Regions from separate parts of the Homo sapiens genome. Here region 2 is linked to region 1. Evidence: promoter capture Hi-C in human tissues and cell types (Jung and others, 2019). All regions are on one chromosome and are shown on one strand. The core of a region is centred on a gene start or on the middle of the fragment in contact, and the rest is flanking DNA. Distances in the headings are between cores, read along the strand shown.

The links. The method cuts DNA at HindIII sites, captures the fragments that hold promoters and counts their contacts. A contact is called where the count stands out against the background at its distance.
Region 2: a contact is called between a fragment that was not itself captured here and the fragment with the promoter of MRPS6 in region 1, in 1 of the 25 tissues and cell types used here (lymphoblastoid cells).

Annotation. Positions count from the first base shown.
Region 1 is chr21:34,071,323-34,076,094 of GRCh38, reverse strand. It overlaps MRPS6 (mitochondrial ribosomal protein S6), which reads right to left and starts at 2,517. Exons shown (of 3, transcript NM_032476.4): 1 at 2,350-2,517. The coding sequence starts at 2,394. It overlaps SLC5A3 (solute carrier family 5 member 3), which reads right to left and starts at 2,517. Exons shown (of 2, transcript NM_006933.7): 1 at 2,350-2,517. RefSeq lists silencers at 1,860-2,259, 2,550-3,069 and an enhancer at 1,656-2,606. The HindIII fragment of the contact is 15,607 bases long and covers 1-4,772 here.
Region 2 is chr21:35,341,591-35,346,233 of GRCh38, reverse strand. No RefSeq gene overlaps it. Among named protein-coding and RNA genes, the nearest start is that of RUNX1, 290 kb to the right of the region's middle. The HindIII fragment of the contact is 7,034 bases long and covers 1-4,643 here.

The DNA of each region.
Region 1 (4,772 bases), core at 1,268-3,767:
CAAATGATTTGGGGAGGAAAGGAAAATACATCATATTAAAGGGGTAAAGAGGTATACACTTAAGAATCTAAAAACGTGGAAGATACGCAACTTTGAACTGAGGAGCTTCAATACCCTTCTTGCAACAGAAGCACAAAGTGCCTCGGGTTAGAACTGTGGTTTCTCCAAGGCCTGCTACCGGTGTGCAAGCTCACAGTCGCATTTTTCATTTCATAAGCCTAGAGTTAACTTTTTAAATTCGTTTCCCCCCAAACATTCATCCTATTTTAGAATCCTATTTTCCTAAACTGAAAGCAAGCAAACTGGTCTAAAACCTGGAAGTCTTTGTGTTTGTGCCACATTTACAAGCTACAGATAGGTTTTTGAACAAATAACTGAGAAGCTATTGTTTAATATTACTTTATTTAGGTCAAGGATCTCCTCAACATAACTTCGCCATTGTACATAAGTCACCACTGTTACAACCTTCTATCTACTGCCATGGGGCCTCTTTCTCCAAGAGGCAGTTCACCTTTATTATCTACTTTCTAGGGCTTTTTTTCTTTTTTTTGCCCCCCTTCCCTCATGCGAAGATTTCAAGGAAGGTTATTTATTATTTTAACCAAATTACGCTCTGTTGATCTGAACTAGAGTGAAAAATGGGTGCTCCACATCCAAAGGCTATGTTATTACAGGACATAAAAAAAAATGGTAAAAGAAATACACTTAATACTTGCAGCCATGTTAACCAAGATACTTGGCAACTATGGCAAAAACAAAGGGGAGGGCAAGTCTTCATTTCAAAGGTTTCAAAGGGTTACAGAATGAGCAAATATTATTGCCTACAGGTTGCCTCTTTCAGTGTCACCTGCTACCTCCCCAAGACAAGGAAAGTAAACAAAAGGAATTTCAGTAACGAATTTCCCAGGTTCCACATTCCCTAAAACACGTAAGTTGAAGGGAGGGCTTAAACAACTTCCACCTAATTAAAAATCTTCCCTTTTAATAATGCTTTGTTTTCACTGCTCCTATCCTTTCGGAGTTACATATGCTGGTAAGCAAGGAGGAGGGCCAAAAGGGATATTCAAGAGGCTGAACAGATACTATCTTAACTTCTTCCAAATCCATGAAGAACAAGCTGGGGGACACAATGGCATGCCTGGCCAGGCTGTCTGGACCTCATAGAGAGGCACTGGCGTCCCTTCCCAGTTAACAATATGCAAAGCACACTTCCTAACAATCTCCCGACGCTCCGTGATTGTTAGTTTATCAATTGAGCTTAAGTTCAACCAAACTTGGTAATACTCCTCGCAATTGACCTGGAGCCTAATTTCAAACGTAAAAATGCGTCCACTCCTCTAGCGCTGTAGGAAGCTGTGCTTACAAAGTTCGGACGTGGTACAATGATTTTTGTTTTATTACACCTGGTGGAGAAAAAAAAACATAACACCAAACTACGTTACCGAATTCCGAATTCACGGGAGAATGGGGATTTCGGCGACGACTTGAGGAGTACATGACCCAGGACAGAGGACGAAGTGAGCTGCCTCCGGGCCGCGGGCCCCTGTCCTTGGCCACGCCGTCACCTGAAAGGGGCCGCTGGTTCGCTTAGCATCCCTCCAAACCTGAAATCCCCTACCTCAAGATCAATCAAAAGCAGGGGGAAGAAAGTGTCTTCTGGAGGCGCAAGAAAGGCCACAACTTGGATGAATGAAACTGGGCTAAGGGCACCCGGAGCGGGATTTTCGCTGAAGTCAGAAAAAGAAAAGTCAAAAGATTTTTTTTTAACATGAGAGCGATTGCAAGAGACTGGAATACAGACAACGGCACAAACAAGCTTTGGAGGAACGCTTTATTGGGCGCGGACGTTCCGGGCGGCCGGCGGGCGCTAGAGCGGAGGCGGTCGGCGGCAGCCGGCGGGCGGCGGAGCGGGACGGACCAGGCGGCGGCGGCGGGGCCGGCGACGAGGCAGCTTCACGACTGGCGGGGACGGGCCGGAGTCGGGCTGGGCGCCCGCGCGTGTCCTCCCGCGGACCTTCCACTGGACTCCCGCGGGCCGGCGCCGGGATCGGGGTCGGGGCCCGCTCGGTCCGCCCCGCCCCCCGCCCGGCGGGCCGCTTGCGAGGCACACCCTCCCGGACCGCGCACACGCGCAGGCACACCCCCGCCTCCCGCGCGCACGCGGCCGGGCCCGGCCGGCCCACGCGCGCCCCCTTCCCGCGGACGCCCGCCGCCCGCCCGCCGCCCCGGCCTCCTCCGAGGAGTGCAGGAAGGCCCGGGGTCCCGCGGCCAGGGCGCGCGGGGGACGGCGGCCTAGCGGCAGCGGGGGCGCCCGCGCGGGAAGACCGGCTCTGAGGGAAGGTCACTTACCCGCTGCATGGCTTTCAGGATTAAAGCCAGCTCGTAGCGGGGCATGCCTGGAGGATCGGCGAGTGCGGCTCGGAAGCCAGCCGGTTCCCGGGACGCGAAGGGGCGGGACGGCGGGGACAGTGGGGACCTAGAAACTGCTGCGCCGGACGGCTCCCAGGCGGCGAAAGCACGGTCCGAGAGCGCGAGCCCGGGCTTAAAGGCGCTGGCAGCTGCGCAGACGCCGCGCCACGCCCCCTCGGCGCGCCCCGCCCCGCCCGCGCGCCTTGCCGCCGCCCCGCCCCCTCTCCGCCCGCGGGCGGCCGCCACGCCCCCTCCGCAGCCCCGCACCCGCCGCACCGCCCCCGCCCCGACCCCAGCCCAGCCCGCCGGCCGCGGCTAGGGGCGGTGCTGCAGACGCGGCCCAGAGCGGCTCGCGGCGGCCGCACGCCCCCTCGCGACCCTGCCTGCCCCTACCCCGCCTCCTGCCATGCCTGCTACCTAGCTCTCGAACCGGCTGGAACTTTCCATGCCTTCCTTCTCCTCCCGGGCGGCGGGCGAGTGAGTGCCCGCCAGTGCGCGTGCGCTGCGGTGCGGTCTCGTCCGTGCGCGTGCCCCTCGCCCGCGACTCCCCGGAGCTAGGGACCTTCGCGGCGCAAGGCGGGGTCGCGGCCGGCCCGGGGGCTGTGCGGCCAACGGCTGCTCGCAGGGGTTCTGGAACATTCCCGCCCGGGGTCGGTAGGGGGGTGCAGCTCTCGCCCCCAGCCACAACTCTCAGGTCTGACGCGGCTGACCAGGCCCCCTACCCGGCGAGGAGCGCGCTGGCACAGGCCGTGGGCCGCGGCGCGCGGGCTCGGGTCTGACTCAGTCCCTTGGCACTGCGTGACCTTGGGCCTGCTGCCTGTGCCGAAAGTGGGGACCCGAGTGAGTTACTGCACGTTAACCTCCGAGGACGGTGCCTGGTACACACAGGCGCGATACGGGCATTTGTGGTGTGCCCCTGACCTGCCCCCACGTGTTTCAGCGGAGGGCAGGCGAACACCTTAACTCTATCTCATTTCTTTAAATGTTTCCTCCGCTTTCACTTAAAGGCTAGGCTGAGTGCCTGGGAGACCCTTTAGCAACTGTCTAAGGTGGGCAGGGGCATACGTTCTGCCCTTGCCATCCCTTTACACCCACATGGTTCTCCGCCCTCCAGCCAGGGGCTCTGCAAGTGCAGTTTTCTCCAGCGCCCTTCCTTAGAGGTTGAGTACCCTGCAGCTGAGGCCTCTGCCCCTTGTTTGCCCCATTAAAAGCTCTGTACGTGGAGTGTTTGTCAACTTAAAGTGCTTTAACGTTAATAGGTAAAGTTTAGTGAACACTTACTCTGCATCAGGCCCCATGCCAAGGCTGGTGGATGTGTCTCCTAAAATTCTCACAACAGCCCTGAGGTGACAAAGATTCTTTGCTTGGCCAAACTTTAGTCAGGCTTCTGAATCTCATGCTAGGCCCATCTGTGCACTTCCTTGTAAAATCCAGTTCTAGCACAGAACCCCCATCCCCTCATAGCAGATCAGGTTCCTCATCTTCCTCTATCCCCCAGTCATGTCTTTTCACCCTGGCCTGAGTTCTACAAGAATCCTTTAGATCGGTTGAGCCAGAATCCCTCTTCCCCCGATGGTTACTCTTAGTGATTTTACATGGCCATAAATTTCTACTTGCCGACGCTGCATTCAGAATTGGAGCCCACTCTCTCTCCCCGGGTTTCCCTGATCCCTGTACCCATCGCGTTGGTCCTGAATAAAGTCTTTCTTACCATGCTTTAGTAAGCATCACTGAGTAATTTTTTTAAACAGAGGCAAGCACTGTTAACCCCATATTAGGGATTAGGAAATGTAGGCACAAAAAGTTTTGTAACTAGTCCAAGGTCATACAGTAATAGAAACAAAGTACTTTTAGCCGCCCCTCTACCCTTCTGACCTCCGGTTCTCCTACCACACAGATGAAGATGCTGATTGTTATTCAGTGGATTAACCGTGTAGTCCACGTAAGCCAAGATTAGAGTACCTTTGTCACCTTACCCAGAGGTTACCATTTCACATCCCATGCGTCTATTTGTGACATATGGGAGGTAGGAGATGGAGATGAACCCAAGTTTTTCTGAGATAGCTGGATTTTAACATTTTCTATTTTTAGACTTGTCTACAACCCATACCTGTGTGAAGCCACACAGGTAATCCAAATTGCCTGGCTAAGTGTCAATTAACTTCATGTTTGGTTTAAATAAGTAGCGTACTATAAATAACAGAAGGAAACAAGGAATTTCTGGACCTTCAGAAGTGAGTTACAGGCTGGGTGCAGTGGCCCACGCCCGTAATCCCAATACTTTGGGAGGCTGAGGCGGGTGGATCACCTAAGGTCAGGAGTTTGAGACCAGCCTGGGCAACATCGTGAAATCCTGTCTCTAA
Region 2 (4,643 bases), core at 2,140-4,639, 1.3 Mb before region 1:
GCTGCTGTGTACTGTTATTAATCCTAGAGAGTGGCTCTTTAATATAGTCCAGATCACAAAATGTCCTCATGAGATAAGAATGTATAGCCAGAAGGGGCTCCATAAATCAGAGAGCTCAACTTCCAGCATTCAACTGATGAGGAAAACAAGGCACTAGATGTTAAGTAGCTAAGCCAAGAGTGCCCAGCTGGTTAAGAGATAGAGGTACCCAGACTCAAACCAGGGTGAATGAGCTCCTGGTTGGTCTGGGCTCCTCTTTCAGGACTCAACAGGATGCCTAGAAAGCATGAAGACCAGGATTCCTGGAGCAGTGAGACCCATCAGAAGAGCCCCTGTCAGTTTTGCATGGACTCTCCTCCTCTCAGCATCTGCCTCTTTTCCCACTTCAGGCCATTTCACCTCCAAGCACCTTACCCTTTGTGATACTGAGGTCTGCCATCAAGATTCTGTCACCCAGCCCAGCCTCCCCCATCAATGCTCAGACTTGGACCCTGGAAGGCTCTGCTTTCCCACCCTCCTCCTCGTTCACTGATGCCTCAATCAGCTTCAAGCGACGGGAAAATGGCAAAGGACCAGCCACTCATTTTAGGACTGCCGCTCCATACAGGATTTGGGATGCAACCTCCATACCTAGCAGATAATTGGGCTGCGGCCACCTACGGAGTCATTTCACCAGTGACAACTGCCCACTGTGTGACTACCAGTGATATGATTCATCTGGTTTTAAATCTTCTGCTGAGGTCTCCCGCCCCTTGCCAGATCACAGAAGTGGGTTCTTGGCAAGGACTCAGTTACAGCAGAGGAGCCAGTGCCCACAGCCCCAAGCGGCCCTGGTTCATGGGTCTTCTGCGGGGTTCCATGCTCTCCTGTGTCTCTTCTTCATGTTGTTACAATGTCACCAAAGAGTTTGTCCAAGGTAACCTTAAAGAAACTGTAATTTCTTGTCGTGAAAAGAGCACTGGGCAAGAAGTTAAGGGATCAGAGTTCTGGAGAGCAGGAATCATAAGCCTTGCCCTTGGACTTGCCTTACAGAGTTGCCGTGAGCAACGAACAGGTGATTAACATGAGGACGGGCTCTTTGCAGGTGATGGACAGGATTACAGCAAAGCTATGCTGCCTCTCACTTGAGGAGATAATTCCAGTGAGGGGCCAGAAGTTTTCATTTCTTTTCTCATTTATTCAACACTTAGTAAATAGTTTTCCGATGCTTATGGCAAGCAGAATTTCAATACGGCTCCCACGATTTCTGCCTGCTGGTGTGTGGCCCAGCACATATCTAGCCGCTCCTGTCAAGGGATTCTGTAGATGTAATTCAGGTCTCAGATCAGCTGCTGGGATCTTCCTCATGAGAGAGATTCACAGCGTGACAGACATTCAACATGAGGGAGACTTCTTGATTGCTTGTTTTAGAAATGGAGGGGGCTGTGTAGTAAGGAATGTGGGTGGCCTCTACAGGCTGAGGGTGGCCCACAGCGGACAACAAGAAAGGCAGTGGGAATGTCCGTCCTACAGCCTCAAAGAAATGAATTCTGACAACACCCTGAATAAGTGTGAAAACAGATTTTCCCCCAGTCTCCAGAGGAAAACCCAGTTGGCTAACACCTTAATGTCAGCCTCCTGAGACACTATGGAGAACCCAGTCACAGACTTCTAATCTACAGAGCTGTGAACAGATAAAGGGATTGTTTAAAGCTGCTGAGTGTGTGGAAGCGTGCTACAGAGCAATAGAAAACTAGCAAAATGCTTCTAAAGGCAAGAGCCATGATACCTAGAGTCTTGCATCTTCCTAGAGTTGTGAACACAGGGGCCTTGTAGGTTCTCAAATAATAATGAATCAGGCGAAGGCATTACATGGGTTTCCCAAAGCAGGTACAGGTTTAGGCTTCTCTGATTCCCTGTTATATCATCACACCTCTCTCAAGGCTTATAGAAGGTACTGGTGACAGGGCTTGATGTTTTCAAGCGTCTTTTTGGCTGTGCAGAATCCAATGGAGGCACTCAGGGGCGCTTTGGTCCCTGAACTTGAACTGCTTGTGAATTGCCCTGGTCAGCTGGCCATCAGTGCTAGAACATGAACTTGATTTCTAATCTAATGAGCTTCCTGCTTGTCTGCACTTTCTTCCTATTGACTTCTTAGTTCTATGAAGTTCAGCCATCAGGGGTGTAGGTTTATATGTCTGTGTTTGTTTTCTTTGAGCAAACATATTTTCTTTCTTTTCTCCTTAGGCTATTGGGTTATGTTTTTCCCCAGTCTACATAGTATCAGAAATTATAGTTAGGGCTATTATTATTCTGCTACTCTATTTTTATACAACTTTATAAGACTTTTTTTCTTCTTTTTTAATAAGTGCGGTTACATGAAAGCATCTGAGTAAACTTACTTTAATTTCCTCTCATCGTTACGGTCCTCTTGAACATTTTCTCTTGTTTCTTGCCATTCCTCACTTGCTGTGTTCACTTTATTGATTTATTAAAGTATTCCTTGAGTGTTTTTGAACTTGAAAGGAAAAAGGAACCAGTTAAAGAATGGGGGATCCACCTGGTTCCTCTGAAACTTGAAACAAGTGAGGACGGTGCATTTAGAAGTTTTCCAGTTTGTCATATTGAAATTGCCTGAGCGACACCAACACCACTTGCCCTCCTTTTCTGACAACATGAGCACCTACCTCTTTGTCAGGCATGCTGGCTAGGACATAAGATCCTCAGTTTCCCCACCTAAGAAAAGACGCAACAATTATGCCTGTCTCATAGTCGTATCAGTATTACACCTGTTTATTGTGATGGGGATCAGAAGATGCCACTCTAAACTATGCCACTTTGGCATAAAGATTATTTGGGGCTAAAGGCAGTTGAGAATCAGCAGGTGCAGGAAGAGTTCCTCAACCCACCATTAACAGCCTAAAGACAAGGCATACAGTTTTAGTTTCTCTTTGAGGAGGACCTCACCTCCTACACAAGGAGGGAAGAGTGACTCTTTTCATTGAAGAAAGGGAGTTGATGCCAACATGTGTTTGCACAAGCGACCTTACTAAAATAACCCTTATCTTCCCTGAGTCACTGGATTTCCTAGTCACTTCCCCACTATTTATCATACCTTGAGACCCAAACTCTTTTCCCTTTGTTGAACGGCTGTATAAGCCCCTGAGTCTGCTTCTTTGAGTTTCACTCTTTTTCTGGGAACTCTTGTGCATGTAAATATCAAGAAAAATTGTGTACCCTTCCCCCTGTTAATCTATCTTTTGTTAGTTTAATTCACAGGCTCTCAGTTACCAAACTTAAGAGAATAGAGGAAACGTTTTTTCTCCCTGATAATGGATTAAAAAAAAAAAATCTTAGCCCCATATCTGGCATATGACTGGATAAATGTTAGGTATTACATTATTACTTTTCCATCTCAATTCCTTCCAGTTTTTTCAGAAATGGACTACTCACCTGTCTTCTTCACTCAGCTTCATCTATCCTGCAAACCCTGCATTTCAAGGGGAAGCTTGGCCACCCCCAGTTCTGGAGGAACTGGTTTGTGCCTCTCTTGTCACTGATTGCATTTGCATAGCGCTTCACCTCAACACGGCTTAATCATATCTTTCTTACTGAACTACACATTTTTGAGGACAAGAAACCTGTCCAAAACATATATCTCCCCTTACATCTAACTCAGAAACTAACACGTAATAAGGAAACAAGTGGGGACTTCCTCTTTTACCTTCCTCTGTTCTAGTGTCTTACCTTCTTTTTGGAAATGTAACATATTCGTCATCTAAAATGAATTTCTGACTTGCCTTCTTCATCATTCACTTTTCAGAATTGAAATGGATACTTATTTTAGTTCCTGTTTTTTAGTGGAAAATTCCATTTTTGGTAAAAATCTTTTTCCTAATATTAAAGACCTTTCAGAATTTGAAAGCACACTTACCTATCAAATAGATACTTTTTTTCTTGCACATTATACACATCTCTCCTCCTTTTTTTGGCAGGTAGAGTCATCTGTTAGGGCATCTTCATCTCTGTTTTTTTCTTGGATTTTTCTAAATTATATATTTGTTCTATAATATCCAACCTAGTATTTGATAAAAATCAATCATATCGTATGCCTCTATTTTTTAAACATAGTTTAAAGTCTTGAATATTGAACAAGGTTTTTAATACTCTAAAGGGAAAATACAGTTTTCATGTTGGTACTTTTGTTTATTTCTTTTTTGGCTCTTAGGCAGAAATACGAGGTCGTGTACAAAGTAGAAATTCATACTTTGTCTGGTATAATCTACTTAAAATAAATCCCCCTTACTAAAGTTACCCAATACTTACTCTAAGAAAGAACAGAAAGACATAAGAAAAACATATCTTTTAATGATTAGGAAAACAGCAGATGAAATAATGATGCTCCAAAAATAACAGGTCTGAGTCCTTGAAACCTATAAATGTGACCTTACAATGTAAAAGCGACTTACAGATGTGATGAAGTTAATGATTTTGACATGAGGGATTTTCCTGGTGGGTATTAAATCCAAGCACAAGGGTCCTTATAAGAGAGAGACTAAGGGAGATCAGACACACGAAGAGACAGAGGCAGAGATTGGAGTGATGCAGCTACAAGCCAAGGACGCCAGAACCACAGAAGCTGGAAGAGGCAAGGAAGGGTTATC